3 separate regions of the Homo sapiens genome follow, and all the other regions are linked to region 2. The links are contacts of gene promoters, found by promoter capture Hi-C in human tissues and cell types (Jung and others, 2019). All regions are on one chromosome and are shown on one strand. The core of a region is centred on a gene start or on the middle of the fragment in contact, and the rest is flanking DNA. Distances in the headings are between cores, read along the strand shown. Region 1 overlaps CUX1 (cut like homeobox 1). Region 2 holds the start of SH2B2 (SH2B adaptor protein 2). Region 3 overlaps CUX1 (cut like homeobox 1).

Region 1 (4,567 bases), core at 353-2,852, 450 kb after region 2:
GAGGCCAAGGCAGGTAGATCACCTGAGGTCAGGAGTTCCAGACCAGCCTGGGCAACATGGCGAAACCCCATCTCTACTAAAAATACAAAAATTAGCTGGGCGTGGTGGCGGGTGTCTGTAGTCCCAGCTACTCGGGAGGCTGAGGCGGGAGAATCGCTTGAACCCAGGAGGCGGAGGTTGCAGTGGGCTGAGATAGTGCCACTGCACTCCAGCCTGGGCAACAGAGGGAGACTCCATCTCAAAAAAAAAAAAAAAAAAAAAAAAAAGAAACAATCAGCTTTTCAAATAAATAAGAGGCCTCTCTCTGAAACAGAACACTAGGCACTAAAGGCCATCCCTGGGCACCGCCCTGTGGATTCCACTTCCAGATTCTTCCCTGGAAGAATCGTGACAACAGAAGTCTGGGGATAAGGAAAGGCACGTGGCTGCACAGGGTAGGACAGGATCAGAGGGGCCGGCCCAGCACCCCACCTACTCGGTACTCGTGTGAACACTGTGCGTCCCATTCTAGGACAGACTCTGCACCCCCCGTTAGAAGGAGATGCCAAGTGCCCTGATTTGGGGGGGAAAATTGCAGTGAAGATTTCTTAGCAAAATCGCCTCCTCCTAACACAGAATAAAACCAGTCTGCAAAAAGGATGCAGACTTCCTGGGAAGGCGAAAACCTGAGAGCTCTGTTTTAGGGTCTGATGCCGCAGTGTACAGGTCCCAGAGCCCTGGACTTGGCCTCCTGGAAATACTACAGCACAGTAATGGTTTTTAACCTGACATCCATCTTCTGCTCTCCCACGCCCCGAGGTGACTGTCGCACTTTCTCCCTTCTCCATAAGCTTGCTTTTGGATTCTTTTTTTTTTTTTTTTTTTTTTTTAAGAGACAGAGTCTTCCTCTTGCTCTGTCACCCAGGCTGGAGTGGAATGGCACTGTCATACGTCACTGCAGCTTCCAACTCCTGGGCTCAAGCGATCCTCCTGCCTCAGCCTCCTGAGCAGCCAGGATCACAGGTGTGCACCATCACGCTCAGCTAATTTCTTTCTTTTTTTTTTTTCTGTAGAGACAGGGTCTCACTGTTGCCCATGCTGGTCTTGAACAACTGGGCTCAAGCAATCCTTCCGCCTTGACCTCCTAAAGTATTGGTATCACAGGTGTGAGCCACCATGCTGGGCTAATTTCTTTTCTTTTCTTTTTTTTTTTCTGTAGAGATGGGGTCTCACTGTGCTGCCCAGGCTGGTCTTGAACTCCTGGGCTCTCAAGTGATCCTCCTGCCTCAGCCTCCCAAAGTGTTGGTATTACAGGTGTAAGCCACTGTACCTGGCTTGCCTTTCCGATCCTTGAACGCTTCACGTTCAGTCGAACGCACCCTCCTCCCTTTTTCTCAGGAAAATACATGAATCAGAGAAGAATGCTCTCAGGGAACCAGCCCCGAAGTTACTTTCCCAGCAAGACTTCTCTTTAACCTGCAGACAAGTCCAAGCCCTCCCACCCCTAAGCAGCTCCTCCCTGCACACCACCTCCCTCTCCGGCCCCTCCCTGCATGGCCATGGCGCTGCTCCTGGTAAGATGGGGACCAGAGGCACCGGAGCAGGCCACAGGACAGCCAGCTGACCCCCTGTGCAGCCGCTCCGACGCGCCCAGAAGTGGCAGTCCTAGTACCAAGCAGACAGGAGCCCCCCAGCAGTAGGTACCTGCCTTGCCACCAGGTATCACTATAATTAGTCATTGTCATTGAAGCTGAATGCAATTAATTACATAATTTTGAAAGGTTCGGGTTTATTTCCATTAGAATTACATCATGAAACCAGGGAATTACAAAGGATTACAGACAGAAAGCAAATAGGGATGAATAAAGGAACTCCAAGCCAACTCCCCGCGTGAGTCACGTCCAACGCCGAAGTGTGGGTCCTGTCGCCCCACTTGTGTTTGATAAACCTGTGGGGACTGACTGGGTGGACGTCTGCACGAAGCCCGCCCCTGAAGGTGCCAGCCCCCTGCACCGCAGGTGCTGGGGACACAGTGGGCTCGCTGGATGTGCCATGTCGGTGGGGGACACTGATGACCACACCCTCCACAGGCTGTTCCCTGCCCCTGCTGTTCCCCAACCTCAGTTTTTCGCACCCCTCTGGATGCCTGTGGAAATGCCACTCACCCAGCCCCATCTCTCCCATCACCCCTCAGTGGTCCCTGCCTGAAATGCCAGGGCCAGGCACACTGAGTCTGGCACGGCCACAGCCTGGCATCCTCTCACTGGGCCATGACCACCACACCCTCCTGGTTCCATTATCACCCCTCCCTCCTCACTCTAGCCCGCCTTCCATGTGGGGCTTCCAGAAGGATCCTCTAAGACACACCCCAACAACTGAACCATCCCTCTTCAGTTTAAAAATCGGGGCTAGGCATGGCAGCTCAGGCCTGGAATCCCAGCACTTTCGGAGGCTAAGGCAGGAGGATCGCCTGAGGCCAGGAGTTCAAGACCAGCCTGGGCAACACAGTGAGACCCCCCCATCTCTACAAAAAATACAAAAAAGTTAGCCTGGCATGGTGGCGCATGCCTGTAATTCCAGCTACTCGGGAACCTGAGGTGGGAGGATAGCTTGAGCCCGGGAGGTCAAAGCTGCAGTGAGCTATAATCACACCACTGTACTGGAGCCTGGGCGACAGAGCGAGACTCTGTCTCTAAATAATAATAATAATAATAATAAAGTTATTTCTCAGGGCCTTCAGAAGACAGAAGTGACTCTGTGGGGCTTTGTGTATCAGTCCTGCTCCGTCTGTTCCCAGGCCACTGGGCACTCACTTATTCCTTGCCTTTGTCTTCCATCCCCCTTGCAAGAATGTCAGTTCCGGCCAGGCATGGTGGCTCACGGCTGTAATCCCAGCACTTTGGGAGGCTGACGTGGGTGGATCACCTGAGGTCAGGAGTTCGAGACCAGCCAGGCCAACATGGCAAAACCCCGCCTCTACTAAAAATACAGAAAATTAGCCCGGCGTGGTGGTGCACACCTGTAATCCCAACCATTCAGGAGGCTGAGACAGGAGAATCACTTGAACCCAGGAAGCAGAGGTTGCAGTGAGCCGAGATTGCACCACTGCACTTTAGCCTGGACGACAAAGCAAGACTCCATCTCGAAAAAAAAAAAAGAATGTCAGTTCCTTAAGGGCAAGGATTCCCTACTGTCTGGTCACTCAATCCCTATGCTAGAATGCTGCCCGGCACACAGGAGACACTCAATAAATGCTCAACAACAGCCTAAGGAAGTCTTTGGAGCAAGACAGCCAGAGTCCATCTTCCCAAACCCCTGCCCTGTTCACACAGCAGACACACCCAACCCGCTGCCATTGGACACCTCGCGATACCCCAATGTGTCCTGCATTCTCTGACCAACCAGCAGGCCAGAAGTATATTTCTTTGGGTAACCCAGGGGCTTGAACAGGATCCATTCGAGTCATCAGGTACCATGGAGTGTGCTCAGAACACGAATGGATGCACGGCCCCAACAACCTATGAAAAAAATGAATCACCCCAAAACACACGGAACTGCCAACAACTTCACTCGAATGTGCTGTGTTATTTCTGAGACCAGGGCACATTTTTGCATATTTTGTCTTTAAATTTATAAATTTTTAACAAAACAAAGTGCATCATTATAAAAAAATCAGGCAGGCAAGAGTTATCTGGGCCAGGCGTGGTGGCTCACGCTTATATAATCCCGGCACTTTGGGAGGCTGAGGCAGGAGGATCACTTGAGCCTAGGAGTTTGAGACCAGCCTGGCCAACATACTAAGACCCTGTTTGTATAAAAATATGTAAAAAAAATTAGCCAGGCATGGTGGGGCACACCTGTGGTCCCAGCTACAAAGGAGGCTGAGGCAGGAGGATCACTTGAGCCTGGGAGTTCGCGGTTGCAGAGAGCTATGATCCCACCACTGCAGTCCACAACAGATCAAGACCCTGTCTCAAAACAACAACAACAAAAGCATCTGAATCCAGAGTGGCCCAAAACCTCAGTTTTCCAGTCCAATGATAATTCCCCGAGGAAAAGAAGCTAAGATCTCAGGGATGTCGCTGTGACCAGGCTGTTTCAGGCCAGTCGGCCACTGGTACATGTCTTATGAAATCAGTCTCTTAGAAAACACACGCCCAACATCCCATGTAGCTCAGAACAGAAGCCTGCGTGGTGGGTGCTGCCCCGACCATGTCAGGGGATCTGCATGGATTTGAGTGCGGTATCACTGCAGGGGCTACATCAACCAGTTTCCCAGGGGCTTGGAGAGTGGGGATCTGGTCTTGACCGTCACAGGGTTAAGTACAGGTATCAGTATCTACGGGCAATTCACTCCCCAGCACCCAGGGGCATAGCCCCAGCATCTCAGAGGAAAGTCTTGTAAAGAGACACCCCATCTAGCACTCACCGAACCGCCCACAGATAGGGCAGGCCGCTCCTCTGGGCCCCTCCGGCCCCATGACCAGGCCTCTCTCCTAACAGTTCCCCAAAACTGTCCCAACAAACTTGCTTCAGGCAAGGATGGGGCATCTGAGGATAGTGAGTAATGCAACAGGGGGGCTCCTTA
Region 2 (4,315 bases), core at 1,693-4,192:
TGAGACACTCAGCCCCTTCCACTCCCCCAGTGTCATAACTCTCACATGGGCCCTGGCCCAGCCCCCTAAACCTGCAGGATACCCCCTTAGTGCCCCTCACCAACTCATCCCACCCAGCTGCCTTCTGGCTTTTCCAGGACACTCATACCAGTGCCTCCTGAGACCTCTGGTGGCACCCCTAAGATCTGAGCATCCCCGAACTCTGGAGACTACAGGTGCTAATAAAGCTTCCCTGGGCCTTTCTCTGAGCTCAACTCCCAGCCTGGCTGATCTCCAGGTACCTCAAACTCACCACATCCAAGTTCAAATACATCCTCTTCCTCCAACTCCTGCCTGTCCTCTGCACAGAGCCTCAGCACCCAGCTGGGCACTGCCTACTTCCCCTGTTCTGCCCCAATAGCAGGCAGGCCCCCAAGCCCACAGAGGCCTCGGGAACGCCCCTTGATCCTCTTCCCACCTCCACCCTTGCCCCCTGCCCCTCCACCACACCACATGGCTGTGGCCTGTCTCTTCCACCGAACCGTGAGCTCCTGGCTGGTTGTCCTCCCCACCCCCCAGGTGGGCGCTACCCTCAGATGGCCCGGAAGTATGTGGAGAATGGGGCCCAAACCCTGCTTCACCCAGAGGAACCAAAAGATGCTGCACGCCCACACAGCGATGCCCTGCCTTGCTCTGCCCAAACAGGTGTGGGCTGTGACCTCGTGTTGAGGGGTCACACCTGCTATCCCCCTAGACAGAGCATAGCCATAAAACGGCACCCAGCCAGGTGAGCAGGGAAGAGAAACCTCCCCAGGCCCCAGGGCTCTGACCAGTCCCCTGGCCTCACTTGGACAGTAAGAATGAGCGTAGCCCCGGGAAGACAGCAGCCAGGAGGCCTGAAGCCCCTAAACCCCCAATTCCTTGCAACCCAGGCTGGGTAGGCAGGGCAAGAAGTGCCAGCCTCTTGTCAGAGAGGAGTGGTTGGGAGGCCTGGCTCGTTGACTGCGGGACTTTGGGCCAGTCACTTCCCCTCCCTAAGTGTGTGGGGATAATAATAGCACTAAACCCACAGGATTGTTGTAAAGATGACACGAACGGCGATCCTGATGCCCTTAGCTTGGCACAAGTAAGTTTGAAACCAAAAGCTCAGCCCTGGGAGGCCCAGGATCACTTGGGTGGAGATCCCACTTCCAAGACCCCCAAGGGAAGCCCACCCCTGGGTATTTGTATAGAAGTCCTCCCTAGGAGATTCACGCTAAGTAGGGAAGAGGGATTTAGAAACTTCAGACAGATTTTTCACAACAAGGGTAAAAAGAAAAGCGTGTGCATTAACCCTTGATTACCTAGAAGCATTCAACCAAGCAGCATCAGAAGCCGGCCTGCCACGGGGTGGGGCTGTTCTTGTATGTTGGTAGGACAGACCTCTAAGGAAGTAGCTGGTGGGAAACTGTCTCTGAGACCCCCAAAAATGCCCTGATCCACACTAGCCTAAAAGAAGTGCCACCACCGCCACCACCAGACCTCTCCCAAAGCTCCTGGAGCTGAAAAGTTCTAGGTCACTCTCCCAACCTCTTCCTGCGTGGAGTGGGGAGGCCAGGAGGGAAGAGGTTGGGAGAGTTCAAGGTGGGACACAGTAGTGGGGGCTTCAGCTCAAGAGGCAGTCAAAACCTCTTGGGGAAACCACACCCCCTGCCCCCAGTCCTCCCAGAGGAGCTCCAGGGACCTGACTCTGGGACGCAATTCCTGCCGGGAGTTGCCGGTCCCTTAGCCAGGAGGCAGGCAGCACCATCCCATTTTACAGGGTAGGTGATGTTGGCTCGGGGGCATTGGTAGGGCTCCACCCAGGTCTGACAGCCTAGCCTGAGGCTCTCCCTTGCACTAGCTCGAAGTGCACGTAGATCCTGGCTTATTCGTGTTCAGAGTCTCGCCTGGGGCTGCCCGGTCTGCCTTGCGTGGCTCCTGAGAGGCTCCAGTCACTGCAGACTTCCCTCCCTGAAGGCCCCCACTTCGGGGCTGCAGGGGGCCAGGATGCGTCCCTGCCTCTGCCCGGCTTCAGCCCGCTGGGCTGGCGCGGTTCCGGCCCGCGCAGCCCGCAGGTTCATCAATGGCCGAGGCCCAAGGGCCTGAATGGAGGGCACGAACCCGCCCCTTCTTAAAGGCGCCGGCCTCTTGGGCACCCTCCACGATCCTCCCGGCAATCGGGGGCTCCGGGGAGCTCCCCGGCTGGGCAGGTCGAGAAAGGGGGGCCTGGGCCAAAGGGAGGGCGTGCCTGTGGCCTGGAGGAGGTCCTCCCCGATCCCATCCCGTGGCCCTCACCCTCATTCTAGGTTGACGCCCCCTCCCAGCGCTCCCAGCGTAGGGAAGAGACCTGGGCACCCCTTCCCCCAACCAGAGACCCCTCCTCTAAGGACCCGGCTGCTCTCGCCCCACTACCCGGCCGGGGCCCTAGCAGGGGGCGGGGGCGCAGCTGCTCCAGAGGCGGCTCGGCCCCTCCAGCGGCTCCCCGCCCCGCCCGGGATGGGGATCGGGGAGCAGATCCCAGCCGGGGGCGCCTCCCCTCCCTCGCGCGCCCTCCTCCCTCCCACCCGCGCACACAAAGACGACACGCGCGGACCAAGGCGCGTGCGGCCGCTCTCCTTCGGGCAGCGGTGCGCACACAGCGCACGTCCCCGGGGACAGACAGGGGTCCCGGGGGAAGGACCAGGGAGCGAGGAACTGGGTATAAGGAGGCCATACCTACAGGCGCGCAGCTGCGGCCGAGCGGGCTGGGGCGCCGGCTGAGCGCTGCCCGGACCGCGGCCGGGCTCCCCGGGCCCGGTGGCTCATGGCCCGCGGCGGACTGGGCTCCCTCCCTCGTTCACCGCCTCGAAGGCTCCTGCGCTCCTCGCGGTCCCGGCGCGTCCCCCGCGCGGCTCTCTGGCAGCCGAGCTCCGCGCGCTCCAAGCCCAGCCCCAGCGCGGCGCGCCCCTCCGCCCGCGAGGCGCGCGCCTCCCGGCCCCGCCCCGCCCCCGCCCCCGCCGCGAGCCCCGGCCCCGCCCCCCCTCGCGCGTCCTGGCCCCGCCCCCTCCCGCCCCCACTTGCGCCGCTCAGGCCCCGCCCCCGGCCATCCGCGGAGCCCGAGCGGCGCCGGTGGCCGGTGCTTGCTGGCTCCCCGCAGCTGCGGTGCCGAGACTGCCCGGTCCTGGGGCCCGGAGAGAGGGGTTAGGAGCCGGCTCCGAGTCGCCCCATCTGGGCGGGGGTCCCCATGTCGCCGAGCCGGCCCCAGGCCAGGCGCGGGACTCCCACTCCTCCTCGTGGAGGCCACCCCTCGAGCCCGCGGTGGTGGTGGCCCCGGGAGCGCGGAGCGTGGGGCCGGGGGAATGTCCTGCGTGGCGGGTGTATGGGACGCGGACGCCCTCGAAGCGCCCCTCGCTGACGGGTGCTTCGCGGGAGCCGCCGCTGTGGCCAGACTCTCCGCAGCAGGGACAATGGGAGCCTGGAGGAGGCCTGGATGTCGCAACGGAGGAAGTCGACGCCTGGTTCTCATAAATCTCGAGGGCGCCACCACGCCCCCTCCCTGCAGCCCTCCGGTGCGGGAAATCGCCCCCGGGCCACAGGGCGGGACGGCCCCCCTGAGCGCAGTGCCCCCACCACCCAGCCTTCGCTGTGATGGGGGCCTGATGCCACCCGGAGAGGTGTCAGAGATCATAGAGGGGCGATGAGGGGCCACAACCCTGGCACCTTCCTCACCCCTGCCTGGCTCCAGAACTCGCCTGCTTTAGGGCAGAGACCAGTGGGGCTGAGGAAACAGTCCCGCTGGGCTTTGCGGGGCATTTGTAGCCTGACCCCTGGTGCTGAGGGCACAGCGCGGGGGCTCTGGGAGGCTTCCTGAAAGAGGTGCAGGGGGCTCAGCAGGCCTGGAAGGGGTCTGAGAGGGGAGGGAGGGCTTCGGTGGGGGCAGAGGTGTGGAAAGGGCCGCTCAGAGAAGAGAGTAGTCTTGCTCCTGGAGATAGCAGGGGGGGACCCCTGGGTGTCTTCTCCCCTCATCTCCCTCCTTGTCCCCTGCCCCCACCTCTGGCAGTTCTGTCCTGGTCTCCTTGCCAGCCGGAGCTGCCTCCATCTGTCGCCCTCCCGGGCCCAAACTGACCTCTGACTTTTCCCAGAGCCATTTCCCATCTCTAATTTACAGACAAGGGTTTTTATCAAACCCTTCTTAGGGATGGAAAGGTGGGGCTTCCAGAGTTGAAGGTGGAGGGGACAGAGCCTTCACCTGCTGCCCAAAACCCCGGTGCTGCCCTCCACGGGGGCACGGAAGACAGGCAGACCCCTTCCCTGCCCCACATCTCGGCTCTGTTCC
Region 3 (4,739 bases), core at 114-2,613, 430 kb after region 2:
ACAAGAAAGCAGTTTCAGTTTAACGATGACAAGGGAGCCCGAGTGAAGAGGAAAACCTGTCAACTCCTCGTGAAAGTCGGGAGGGTTTCTGCGTAGAAAAAAACAGCGTTCAGCAGCTCAGTTGGCTGCCGTGAAGTCATCAGAACTAGAGGAAGAGTTGGACTTGCTCTAGTGAGGACAGCTTTTGAAGTCACTAACCACAAGGAGGAAGCCTTCCCCTCTGGGCCTGCAGGAAACAGATTGCGTGGCTTTGTCTGTCCTGGCTGGGGAACGCATGACACGCTGAAGGGTTTTCCAGCTCTAGGGAAGAAAATTCATCTTTCTGTAAAGTCCACTTCGTCTTCCATTATCTACCAGACTTCTTGATGGGACCATTTTTAGAGCCTTCAGTGAAAGAATGGAAAACACTAACTTGGATAAACAATTAAGAGTAGGGAGGGAAATAGGTGAAGACGCAACTCTGATGAAATAAACAAACCGCAACCGTGGAATAACATTCTGGTTATTATGGGTCGTGATTAACGGCTCCCTGCGTTGATGGCTGAAAACTTGTGCTTTACTGCACACTTCCAGCAGAATTTAGCTGCTTTTTTCTTTCTTGTTTCCTTTTTTTTTTTTTTTTTTTTTTTTGAGACAGGGTCTCACTCTGTCACCCAGACTGGAGTGCAATGGCTTGATCATAGCTCACTGCAGCCTTGACCTCCTGCTGGACTCAAGCGATCCTTCAGCCTCAGCCCCCAAGGAGCTGAGACTACAGATGCACGCCACCACACCTGGCCAATTTTTCTTATTTTTTGTACAGACGGGTTCTTGCTATGTTGCCCAGGCTAGTCACAAACTCCTGGGCTCAAGTGATCCTCCCGCCTCAGCCTCCCAACGTGCTGGGATTACAGGCGCTAAACCAGCACTTAAGCTGCATTTTTTTTTTTTTTTTTGAGCTGGAAACTCCTTCTACCGCCCAGGCTGGAGTGCAATGGCACAATCTTGGCTCACTGCAACCTCCGCCTCTCGGGTTCAAGCGATTCCCCTGCCTCAGCCTCCCGAGTAGCTGGGATTACAGGCGTCTGCCACTGCGCCCAGCTAATTTTTGTATTTTTAGTAGAGACGGGGTTTCACCATGTTGGCCAGGCTGGTCTGGAATTCCTGACCTCGTGATCCACCCGCCTTGACCTCCCAAAGTGCTGGGATTACAGGCATGAGCCACCGCGCCCGGCCTTAAGCTGCTTTTTAACACATGGGGAGAACACAGAGAAAGTACCAAAATGAATGTTGTAACTCAATTCTAAAATACGTGAAAATATACTGAAGACTCTTCCATTGCATCATCTTGTAAATTCAGGTGAAATCCTGCCTGTCCCTACCTAGGCCTCATTTTCCTTATCAACCTATGAGAAACGACCAGGCATTTCTTGGGTCCCCAGCACCCTGGAGAAAGAGACCACTCGGAGGACACGGCCCCTCACCTCATGGTCCCCCTGGCAGGCAAGGCCACCGGGCCAATTAATGGAAGTCAGTGACCAGCAACTGGAAGGGCTACAGGGTTTGGGAGGAGATAGAGCCTCTGAGGTTGGAAAGGCGGCCAGGGTTTCACTGGGAGGCAGGGCCTGGGCCAGGCTCCAAGGGACGGGGTCCAGCCCCCAGCAAAGCATCAGCACACACTTCAGCAGGAGGTAAGATGCCACGGCACTGGGGAAATTTTTAAGCAAGAGGGAAGAGGATGCATTAACAGAGAAGAGGGAGGTCACCATTGTGGGGCATTGCAATCCAAATTGAGTCCAGGCCGGGCGAGGTGGCTCACACCTGTCATCCCAGCACTTCGGGAGGCTGAGGTGGGAGGATCACTTGAGGTCAGGAGTTTGAGACCAGCCTGGTGAAACCCCACCTCTACTAAAAATACAAAATTAGCTGGGTGTGGTGGCACATGCCTGTAGTCCCAGCTACTTGGGAGGCTGAGGCACAAGAATCGCTTGAACCCAGGAGGCGGAGGTTGCAGTGAGCCAAGATGATGCCACTGCACTCCAGCCTGGGTGATAGAGTGAGACTTCATCTCAAAAAGAAAAAAAAAGAAAGAAAACTGAGTCCATTTTTAGTCCTTTGAAGTGTGCAGGTGTGTGTGACTAAAAACAGGCAGAACCATCACTGTTGAGAATGGGGTGCCACAGAAATGGGAGACAGGGTGTCATTTCTTACTCCAGCAATCGGAGGAGGCAACTGTTAGGAACAGCCCCCACTGGCTGAGCAGTGGCCAAGAGGCACCTCACTTTATGGAGGGGGTCCCTTCCAAACACTAAGAACTTAGGAAGTTCTCGCCACCCAGAGATAAGGGAATGGAGATGCCCAACCCCTAAATGATGGAGGCAGGATTTGAGCCCAGGCCTCTGGTGCCAAAGCCCCCACTGCTTCCTCATCCCATCACCACCAAACAGGCTCCTATGCTTAGGAGACTGGCTTTCTGAGCATTTCATAAAGTTGCTCTGCAGACAGACTCCAAACTTGTGTTAATCATATGTTACCCGCTGGCAGCCCGGCTAGAAGGCGCTCACAAAAGATGACTTTGAAAGACAAAACCAAAACCGAAGTGTTTCCTATGAAACTGGTATCATCACACACAGCCTTGCCCCATGCACACATTTCAGAATTGTCCGACATCCAGTTCAACATGGCAGACGATCCTGTTTGCTTTGGAACAGAAAGGTATAAACTCACCTGACAAAGAGGACAGGAAAGCAAGAACAAATGAAAAGCCCCCAAAATCTCAGAAGCTGGAAAGCGCTGGAAAGCACTGGAAAGCCGAAGCCGCCTTTCCAGACAAGCCTCAAGATGGAGCAGGCCGCCTGCAGCAAGCAAGCTCATTCGAGCTGCAGGACTTGGAGGCCGGGCAGGTGTGCAAAATGCCACTGCGGTCAGGTCCCTCCTGCACTGTGGGCAGAAGACTGGGGTTTCTCATGACCATGGGCAGGGGGCTGAGTGAATATCCCAGCACATGCCCCAGCCTGGTGCCTAGAAGACAGGTGGTCAGACTAACAGTTCCCAACTGCACCACCCAGCAGGAACACTGAGGGCTCCTTGCTAGAGAAACTGACCAGTCCAAGAGAATGAGCCACTGATACCCATGCCTGGGGGCTCCCCGCAACTAGACACCTGGGTTAATTACTTACGGTGGGGGCCACCAAAACTGCTCTTTACCCCGACACACACACACACACACACACACACACACACACACACCCTTTCTATTGCCATGCTCTGATATATGAACAAACAACAACACGTCACTAGGCATTTGAGGAAACCTCTAACTGGGACCAAAACAAAGAGGGAAACGAGGAAAACAGACAAAGCGACAGGACAAAGGCTAAAGAAATTTGGGTCTAGCCGCACAACTGGGTTTAAGCATCAGAGAAAATAAATGGACCACAGTTATAACAGACAACCTCACAGATAATGTTGCAGTAACTCAAGTTCAAAAGGCAAATCCTGCAAGTCTATTGCAGAATAATACCATTTTTATAGAGCTCAAACTCAGGGAAGAGTAATCATATACTACTTAAGCATCTATTCATGGGTGCAGAAAATACATTATTTTAGGCAAGAGCATAATAAATACACTACTTAGGATGGGTCACCTGTCCCAGAGAGGGGGCAGGGAATAGGAGGTGGGAGGAATATACAGGTGGATGCAATTGACTGGCAAAGCTCTGATTCTTAGGGTTGGGTGGAGGGTTCCTGGGTGTTCACTGTATTATATTTTGCAACCAAAATGCATGGTATGCAACTGTTTATATATTTTTAAAAAACATTTTACAAAGTAAAGACAGTAAGAATTCAATGCAGAGGCCAAGCACAGTGGCTCATGCCTGTAATCCCAGCACTTTGGGAGGACGAGGCAGGTGGATCACCTGAGGTCAGGAGTTCAAGACCAGCCTGGGCAACATGATGAAACCCTGTCCCTACTAAAAATACAAAAAACTAGCCAGGCATGGTGGCATGTGCCTATAATCCCAGCTACTTGGGAGGCAGAGACAGGAGAAATGCTTGAACCCAGGAGGTGGAGGTTGCAGTGAACCAAGATCACTCCATTGCACTCCAGCATGGGCAACAAGAGTGAAACCTCATCTCAAAAAAAAAAAAAAAAAAAAAAAAAATTCCAACGCAGAGAACAGAAGAAAACTTTTTTAAAATTTTTTTATTTGTTGCAACAGGTTCTTGCTCTGTCGCCCAGGCTGGAGTACAGTGGTGTGATCTCGGCTCACTGCAACCTCCACCTTCAGTGTTCAAGCCATCCTCCCACCTCGGCTACCCAAGTAGCTGGGACTACAGGTGTGTGCCACGATGCCCAGCTAATTGTTGTCTTTTTAGTAGAGACAGGGTTTTGCCATGTTGCCCAGGTTGGTCTCAAACTCCTGGGCTCAAGCAATCAGCCCACCTTGGCCTCCCAAAGTGCTGGGATTACAGGCATGAGCCACCTTGCCTGGCCAAAAACTTTTTAAAAAACTGTGATGAATGTAGCCAGGAATATAAAAGATGATGCTTCCATGAAAGAACAGACCATAAAAATGTTCAAAGAATAAGAAAACTTGGAAATCTAAAATAAGATGCATAAAAGTTTAGAAAGACTGGAAGGTTGAGAAATTCCTGCAGAAAACACATCAAAAAAGACAGAGGCATGAAAGTGAAAGGTAAGGCTGGGTGCGGTGGCTCACGCCTGTAATCACAGCACTTTGGGAGGCCAAGGTGGG

What was found. Contacts are between HindIII fragments. The study calls those that stand out against the background at their distance.
Region 1: a contact is called between a fragment that was not itself captured here and the fragment with the promoter of SH2B2 in region 2, in 2 of the 25 tissues and cell types used here (dorsolateral prefrontal cortex and spleen).
Region 3: a fragment that was not itself captured here is called in contact with the fragment with the promoter of SH2B2 in region 2 in 2 of the 25 tissues and cell types used here (H1 embryonic stem cells and dorsolateral prefrontal cortex).

What each region holds. Positions count from the first base shown.
Region 1 is chr7:101,829,865-101,834,431 of GRCh38, reverse strand. The region is part of intron 1 of CUX1 (cut like homeobox 1); the gene reads right to left. Among named protein-coding and RNA genes, the nearest start is that of CUX1, 15 kb to the right of the region's middle. RefSeq lists an enhancer at 2,003-2,644. The HindIII fragment of the contact is 8,098 bases long and covers 1-4,567 here.
Region 2 is chr7:102,285,495-102,289,809 of GRCh38, reverse strand. It overlaps SH2B2 (SH2B adaptor protein 2), which reads right to left and starts at 2,942. Exons shown (of 9, transcript NM_001359228.2): 1 at 2,716-2,942. RefSeq lists enhancers at 145-284, 475-524, 1,195-1,284 and silencers at 2,435-2,974, 3,045-3,624. The HindIII fragment of the contact is 12,688 bases long and covers 2,290-4,315 here.
Region 3 is chr7:101,852,074-101,856,812 of GRCh38, reverse strand. All of the region lies in intron 1 of CUX1 (cut like homeobox 1), which reads right to left. Among named protein-coding and RNA genes, the nearest start is that of CUX1, 37 kb to the right of the region's middle. The HindIII fragment of the contact is 8,031 bases long and covers 1-4,739 here.